Regions from separate parts of the Homo sapiens genome. Here region 2 is linked to region 1. The links are contacts of gene promoters, found by promoter capture Hi-C in human tissues and cell types (Jung and others, 2019). All regions are on one chromosome and are shown on one strand. The core of a region is centred on a gene start or on the middle of the fragment in contact, and the rest is flanking DNA. Distances in the headings are between cores, read along the strand shown.

Region 1 (4,009 bases), core at 985-3,484:
ATTTTTAGTAGAGACGGGGTTTCACCATGTTAGCCAGGATGGTCTTGATCTGACCTCGTGATCCGCCCACCTCGGCCTCCCAAAGTGCTGGGATTACAGGCGTGAGCCACCACGCCTGGCCACATAGTAAATTTTTTAAATGAAAGCTGAAGCTGACACAGGGTAGTTTAGAGAGGAAGTTGATGCAAAGGAAGATTCCGTGACCAAGGGCATATGATTGTCAGGACATTTTGCTAGGTGACATAGAGCAGGAGATGGATGTCAAGATGTAGACCCTGCCAGCCAGGCGCGGTGGCTCATGCCTATAATGCCAGCACTTTGGGAGGCTGAGGCGGGCAGAGCACAAGGTCAGGAGTTCGAGACCAGCCTGATCAACATGGTGAAACCCTGTCTCCACTAAAAATACAAAAATTAGCCGGGTGTGGTGGCACTTGCCTGTAATCCCAGCTACTCAGGAGGCTGAGGCAGGAGAATTGCTTGAACCTGGGAGGCAGAGGTTGCAGTGAGCCAAGATCGGGCCACTGCACTCCAGCCTGGGAGACAGAGTGCGACTCTGTTTAAAAAAAAAAAAAAAAAAAAAAAAAAGATGTTGACCCTGCCCTCAAGGAGTTTACAATTAAAAAGATCAGATAAGCCAGACTCAGTGGTGCACACCTGTAACCCCAGTGATTGATTTGGGGGGCTGAGGAGGGAATATCGCTTGAGCCCAGGAATTTGAAGCTGCAGCGTGCTATGATCATGCCACTGTACTCCAGTCTGGGTGACAGAGCTAGACCCCATCTCTAAAAAACAATACTAATAAAAAGAAAAAAGGGTCAGATAAAACATGTACATAGAAAATTACAATACAAGGCAGAATGTGGCTGGACATGGTGGCTCATGCCTATAATCCTAGCACTTTGGGAGGCTGAGGTGAGAGAATCGCTTGAGCTCAGGAGTTTGAGACCAGCCTGGGCAACATATTGAGACCCTGTCTCTATTTACTAAAAAACAAAAAACAAAAACAAAAAAACAGAAAACAAAAAAACAAAAAACAAAAAAAACTAGGTAGAATGTGATACATGTGAAAAGAGATCCAGCTCAAGTGCCTTGGGAGCTCAGGGGAGGGTGAGATTAATCTCTTTTTCCCAAGAATCTGGAGGCAGGAAACCAAGTCGGTTTCATCTTTGGAATTGTAAGCTTAGACTTAGAAGTCTCAGAGGGGGACTTGGGGGTCTTATCCACCCTCACCCCTGGCAGGATTCCCTGTCTAGAATAAACAATAACTTTAAAATGGAAACAAAAAAAGGAGCTCTGAAGGAAAACTGTGAAGGAAGAGGCTCCGTTTGAAATGAATAGAAAATGAATTTAGCTTGGAGGTGCTGAGGTGTTGGTAGAGGCAACTTTCTGGCAAGAGGCGAGTTGAAGGCCAGGAAGTGAATGAGATCAGGGAGAGTGTCTGGAGGGAAGAGGGGCAAAAACAAACTGGGGAAGCACCCACGTTTTAGGAAGTGGGTGGTGAAAGAGGAGTCAGAGAAGGCCAGAGGGAGAGGTGAGCAAAGATCCAGCAGAACACCTTGTTACAAAGTTTCGAGGAGGGTGGGAGGGGTGGAAGCCAGGACGGGTAGCAGAAGGAAGAAAACTTCCAGCAATAGGGATTGAGGTTCCACACGAAGTTACCAATGACATTTCAAGGAATGAAGGCTTTTCCTGAGGCTCCACAAATAAGGTGAATTCCCTGTGTCTCGCATCTTTGGAGCTTCCCCGAGGCCAGGGGGAGCAGGGTTGTGCCCTCTGACCTCTAAATATCTGGGGTTCAGTTCTATAATTAGCAGCACCGGATAGGACGCGAGCCAAACCTCTCTTAACCCTAGCCAGTCCCTCCAGGAACTGAAAAGATGAAGAATTCATTTAGGAGATTTCACACTCGGCTGTTTGGCCTAGCCCAGTGAAGTCCCTTTTCATCACGCAACCCTAATGACTCTTAGGGCTGTCACTGCCGTCTGGTGTTGCCAGGGATCTGACTAAACCGTCTTGCAAAAGTTTGCAGCATTCACCCGAGGCGGACTACAACTCCCAGAATTCCGGGCGCTCCCCGGTGCTGATTGGCGGAGCCCGTGACTCCAGGGGGCGGAGTTTCCCCCGCCTCCCCGGGGAAACAGACCTCTGATTGGCTGGACCGCCGGGCTTTTGTGTCCCCGCCCTCCCCCGGGGACCGCAGCGGGCTGAACTGCTGGTGTCAGAGCCCGGCGAGCGCTGGCAGTTCCGCGGCGGGGATGCTGAGGAGCGCTGGGTCCGGGAGCAGCCCTGGCCCCTGCGGACTTCCGAGGCCGTGAAAACCCCTGCGCTGCGGCCCTTCCCAGGCCCCCGAGGCCGTTCGCCGTTCCCGAAGCCCGACTGGGGGAAGAGTCCAGCACCAAAGCGGCCGTTCTCGGATTCCGGAGCGTTCTGGAGCCCCGAGAGACGCCCCGGGGTTCTAGAAGCTCCCCGGCGGCGCCCAGTCCCGGCTTCATTCGGGCGTCCCTCCGAAACCCACTCGGGTGCACGGGTCGTCGGCGAGCCGCGACCGGGTCCTGGCGCGCACCATGATCGTGGCGGACTCCGAGTGCCGCGCAGAGCTCAAGGACTACCTGCGGTTCGCCCCGGGCGGCGTCGGCGACTCGGGCCCCGGAGAGGTAAGCGGCGGCCGCGCGACGCCCCTCTTCCCTGGAACCCCGAACCGCGTCTGAGCCTCAGGCTGTCCGGAGCTGAGTCGGTGTGTCCTGGGCTCGGGGAGGGAAAGCCGAGCGCGTAACCCGGGACCCGGGTTGCATCAACTGGCAGCCGCGGCCCTCGGCACCCCTCCCCCACTCTGTCTCCCCTCTCCCTCCTTCTCCCCCTCCCTCTCCCCCTCCTCCCTCCCTCTCCCCCTCTCCCTCACCGCCCCACCCCAGGGCCGCGGATCCTTCCTCGGCTCCCTCGGACTCCTGGCCAATGAGGGAGAAGCCTTCTGGAGGCTCTCCGAGCTTTGGGCTCCTGAGCGTCTTCAAGTCCAGGCAAATCCCGGCCGGAGCGGCCAGACCACTCCTCCTCCCCGCCCCCTTCCGCGGAGTCCCTTCCTCTTCGCGGGGGCCGGCGGGCAGAGGACCCTTCCTGGGGTGCCTCCCGGCTCCTGTCCCCCAGCGCGGGGCGTAGGCACCTGGGACTGGCCAGTGAAAGTCGACCTCATCCTATGTCCACCGCACTCCTGCTTTGGAGGGAGAGCGCAGGGGCTCTGGGGGCTTGGCGGGCCGCCCGGTACGCGGCGGCGGCAGCCAAAGCTGGGGGGAGAGGGGACAACCCTGGTCGCGGCTTCCGAAGCCAAGCGCGGGTTAGGCTGCGCCCTGCTAAGTAAGTGGTCTGAAGGCCCAGAAGTTTGTTTTCCAGAAATTCCTCCCCCACCCTCCCTTCGCGCCGCTCCCCTCCACCCCCCCGCATTCGCATCCCGGCATAGCCCGCAGGGGCTTTGCAGGGAGACCGGGAATTAGGCTGGACCTAACCAGACTGACAGTTCGCACTCCCCCACCACTACCAGCAGCAGCGATAATGGACATCTTATCATTTATTATGCACCTACTAGATACCAGGCTCTGAGTTTTTTTCGCCTTTAACCTAAGTCCTCAGGACTAAACCAGCAATACAAGCTACGCTATAGCCCCATTTTACAGGAAGAACATTGAGGCCCACGATGGGCTCAGAAAGAGGCTTTCTTCATTAACCCCACTGAATATCTTGTTCTTTGGCCTTATGATTTCGGAGATTGCACGGCACTAGGAGCTTCTAGTTGCTTTAGTTTACAGGCCTAGAGTGTGGTGGAAGTTGTATTCTGGACCTGGGATTTGGTGGAGTGCTATGACCCCAGGAAAATCCCTGCTTTTCTCTTAGTAACGTGGTTTCTGGGGATCCTACCTCCGTCGGTGTATAGTTTGTGCCCTGGTTTTTGTTAGCTTGCTTACCCTTCTCTGCCGTGATTTAGGAGCGCCATGTGGAGGAATGGCTCTTCTCCTGCAGC
Region 2 (3,958 bases), core at 1,135-3,634, 670 kb after region 1:
ACCTGGGACTATAGGTGTGTGCTACCATGCCCGGCTAATTTTTGTATTTTTTAGTAGAGTCGGGGTTTCACCATATTGGCCAGGCTGGTCTCAAACTCCTGACCTCATGATCCGCCTGCCTCGGCCTCCCAAAGTGCTGGAATTACAGGTGTGAGCCATTGTGCCCAGGCTGAGATGATCTTATGATATTGCCCAGCCTGGTCTCAAGAGATCCTCCTGACTTGGCCTCCCAAAGTGTTGGGATTATAGGTGTGAGCCAACACACTCAGCCGTGATGCACTGTTTGATTCTGATAATCAGGTATGTGTAATTAGCCTTAAACCTTTTTCTTCCTTCTTTCCTTTCTTTTCTTTTCTTTTTTTTTTTTTTTTTTTGAGATGGAGTCTCACTCTGTCACCCAGGCTGGAGTGCAGTGATGGGATCTCAGCTCCCGGATTCAAGCGATTCTCCTGCCTCAGCCTCCCAAGTAGCTGGGATTACAGGCGTGTGCCACCACACCTGGCTAATTTTTGTATTTTAGTAGAGACAGGGTTTCACTATGTTGGTCAGGCTGGTCTCGAACTCCTGACCTCAGGTAATCTACCCGCCTCGGCCTCCCAAAGTGCTGGGATTAGAGGTGTGAGCCACTGCGCTTGGCAACCTTTTTATTTCTTAACGGTAGATTGATATATCCTCTAGCTTACTAAGTAACCTTTGAATTTTTATTATTTCTTTAATTGTAATATAAAAAGCTGATCTTTTATTAAGTGCCATTCCGTCTCCTAAAGATGATGCCTATAATGATTAAATAGTAAAGGTCAGTGTCATCTACTTAGCAAGATTTACCCAGTAAGTCTTTTTTTCTCCAGATGCTATTTTTGTTGACTTATCCTTGCTAGTTGTATTATCTCTAATATGACCATTAATGGACACTGGTTAACAAGATATGTTCAATATTTAATGTATTCTCTTTGGTATTTTGTAAGATGGAAAAGACTAGCATTGGGATGAATAATTGCATAATGATCATAGAATCATATTTAAATAAATATACCAAAGAATATATAACTAAAGGGCAAGTTTTTTTGTTTTATGTTTTTAAATTTTTATCATGCGTACTGTGGTAGGCAGCCTTTATTATGGCCCCCAATTATCCCTCCCTCCTGGTATGCATACCCTTAGTGTAATTTCCTCCCCTTGAGTGGGGGCTATTGAATAGAATACAGCAAAAGTGATGGGATGTCACTTCTAAGATTAGGTTATAAAATACTGTGGCTTCTCTCTTGGGATTCTGGCTTTCTCCCTCTCCCTGGGACCACTAGCTACCATATCCTGAGAACACTCAGGCAGTCTGTAGTGATGTCCATGTGGTTAAAAACGAGGTCTGTCAGTAAACTTGGATGCAGATCTTCGGTGTGAGTGATCTTGGAAGCAGATTCTCCAGGCAGAGTTGAGCCTAGAGGTGAATGCAAATGCAGTAGACAGCTTTACTACAACTTCATGAAAGCCCCTGGCCGGGTGCGTGGCTCATGCCTGTAATCCCAACACTTTGGGAGGCCAAGGTGGGTGGATCACCTGAGGTCAGGAACTCGAGACCTGCCTTGCCAACATGGCGAAACCCCGTCTCTACTAAAAATAGAAGAATTACCTGGGTGTGGTGGTGTGCACCTGTAGTCCCAGCTACTTGGGAGGTTGAGGCAGGATAATCGCTTGATCCTGAGAGGTGGCGGTTGTAGTGAGCTGAGATCGTGCCACTGCACTCCAGCTCTGGGTGACAGAGCGAGACTACATCTCAAAAAAAAAATAAAAAAGACCCCAAGCCAGAGTCACCTAGCTAAGTCATGCCTGGATTCTTCATCCACAGAAACTGTGCAATAATAAATGTTTGCTGTTTTAAGCCACCATGTTTTGGAGGGTAATTTATTGTAAAGTAATAGATAACTAAAACATCTACCACTTATTCATGTAATAAATACTTATTGATTGTTCACTATTTACAAGGCACTATCATAAGTACATTGGGACATAGCAGTGAATAAAATAGAGGTATCTGTTCTTGTGCAGCTTATTTCTTTTTCTGGGACAGGGTCTTGCACTGTCACCCAGGCTGGAGTGCAGTGGTGTGGTCACAGCTCACTGCAGCCTCAACCTCCTGGGCTCAAGCAGTCCTCCCACCTCAGCCTCCTGAGGAGCTGAGACTACAGGCACACACCACTATGCCTGGCTAACTTTTTTTTTTTTTTTTTTTGAGATGGAGTCTCGCTCTGTCACCCAGGCTGGAGTGCAGTAGCGCGATCTCGGCTCACTGCAACCTCCGTCTCCCAGGTTCAAGCTTTTCCCCCGCCTCAGCCTCCTGAGTAGCTGGGACTACAAGCACCCACCACCATGCCCGGCTAATTTTTTATTTTTAGTAGAGGCAGGGTTTCACCATATTGGCCAGGCTGGTCCCGAACTCCTGACCTTGTGATCCGCCCACCTCGGCCTCTCAAAATGCTGGGATTACAGGCGTGAGCCACCGCGCCTGGCCATTCTGGCTAATTTTTAAATGAAATTTTTTGTAGGGATGGGGTCTCCATATGTTGCCCATTTTGGTCTTGAACTCCTGGGCTCAAGTAGTCTCTTGCCTTGGCCTCCTAAAGTGTTGGGATTATAGTCATGAGCCACCACACCCAGCCTGGAGCTTACATTTTAGTGGTAGGGGATAAATAATAAATGTATAAATCAGGGATAGAACATAAGACATCAGATTTTAGTGAGGATCAGGGAAAGTAGAATGGGAGACAGTGAGGCAGGTGGGGTGTACATTTTAGATAAGGGTGATACTTCTGATAAGGTGACATTGGAGCAGAGTCCTAAATGGAGTAAGACAGTGAGCTGTGCAGGTATCTGGGGAAGAGCATCCCAGGCAGAAGGAACAAAATGCACAAAAGTTAAGCGGGTTTGGTGTGTATGAGAAACATTGATCCAGCATGTTGGGTCAAAATGATCTAGGGAAAAGTAGCAGGAGTTTAATTCAGAGAGGTCATAGGTAGGAGAAGGAGCAAATCATTGTAGTGCCTTATTGCCTGTGTTAATGACTTCGCATTTTATTTGGAGACGGGAGTTCTTGGGAGGATTTTGAGCAGAGGAATGGCACGATCCTTCATTTAGTACATGTTAAGTGAGCAGGACTCTGTTTATATATGTGATCACAAAAATATAAAAGATGGGGCTCATGCCTGTAATCCCAGCATTTTGGGAGGCCGATGTGGGAGGATTGTTTGAGCCCAGGAGTTTGAGACTAGCCTGGGCAACATAGAGAGACCCTTGTCTCAAAAAAAAATTATAGGCCAGATGCAGTGGCTCACACCTGTAATCCCAGCACTTTGGGAGGCCGAGGCAGGTGGATCACCTGAAGTCAGAAGTTCGAGGCCAGCCTGGCCAAACATGGTGAAATCCCATCTCTACTAAAAAAAAAAAAAAATACAAAAATTACAATTCAAGATGAGATCTGGGTGGGGCTACAGAGCCAAACCATATCACCTCACTTCTAATCATTCTGTAATGTAGGTATGATACAAATACATATCTTTTAAGGTTATTTTGATGATTAAATGGATTAGAACAGTGCCCAGCACCAGATAAATGTTACCCATTATTATTTTTGCATTTAATCTTCACCACAGCTCTTTGGAGTAGGTATTAACCAGGCCAAAAGTTAAGTAACTTGTCCAAAGTTACACAACTAGCAAGCGAAAATTCGCTTCAAAGCCAGTATTTTTTACGACTATACCTTTACTTATGTCCATGAGTGGGTGGGGAAGGAGAGATTTGGATCTTCTGTCAAAGCCAATGATTTCTTACTAATTGTGATCTTGTGAAAGTACTTTTCCACACCTCAGTTTCTTCTGTAGAATGAGCATAATACTCACATTGCAGATAATCTATAGAATAACTAATAAAAACAAACCTTGTAGTGTGCCTGTCAGAGGTACTCAAT

What was found. The method cuts DNA at HindIII sites, captures the fragments that hold promoters and counts their contacts. A contact is called where the count stands out against the background at its distance.
Region 2: a contact is called between a fragment that was not itself captured here and the fragment with the promoter of SESN2 in region 1, in 1 of the 25 tissues and cell types used here (spleen).

Annotation. Positions count from the first base shown.
Region 1 is chr1:28,257,284-28,261,292 of GRCh38, forward strand. It overlaps SESN2 (sestrin 2), which reads left to right and starts at 2,235. Exons shown (of 10, transcript NM_031459.5): 1 at 2,235-2,654. The coding sequence starts at 2,565. RefSeq lists enhancers at 1,806-1,985, 1,978-2,826 and silencers at 2,096-2,305, 3,086-3,145. The HindIII fragment of the contact is 10,821 bases long and covers 1-4,009 here.
Region 2 is chr1:28,922,757-28,926,714 of GRCh38, forward strand. The region is part of intron 1 of EPB41 (erythrocyte membrane protein band 4.1); the gene reads left to right. Among named protein-coding and RNA genes, the nearest start is that of EPB41, 10 kb to the left of the region's middle. The HindIII fragment of the contact is 3,394 bases long and covers 688-3,958 here.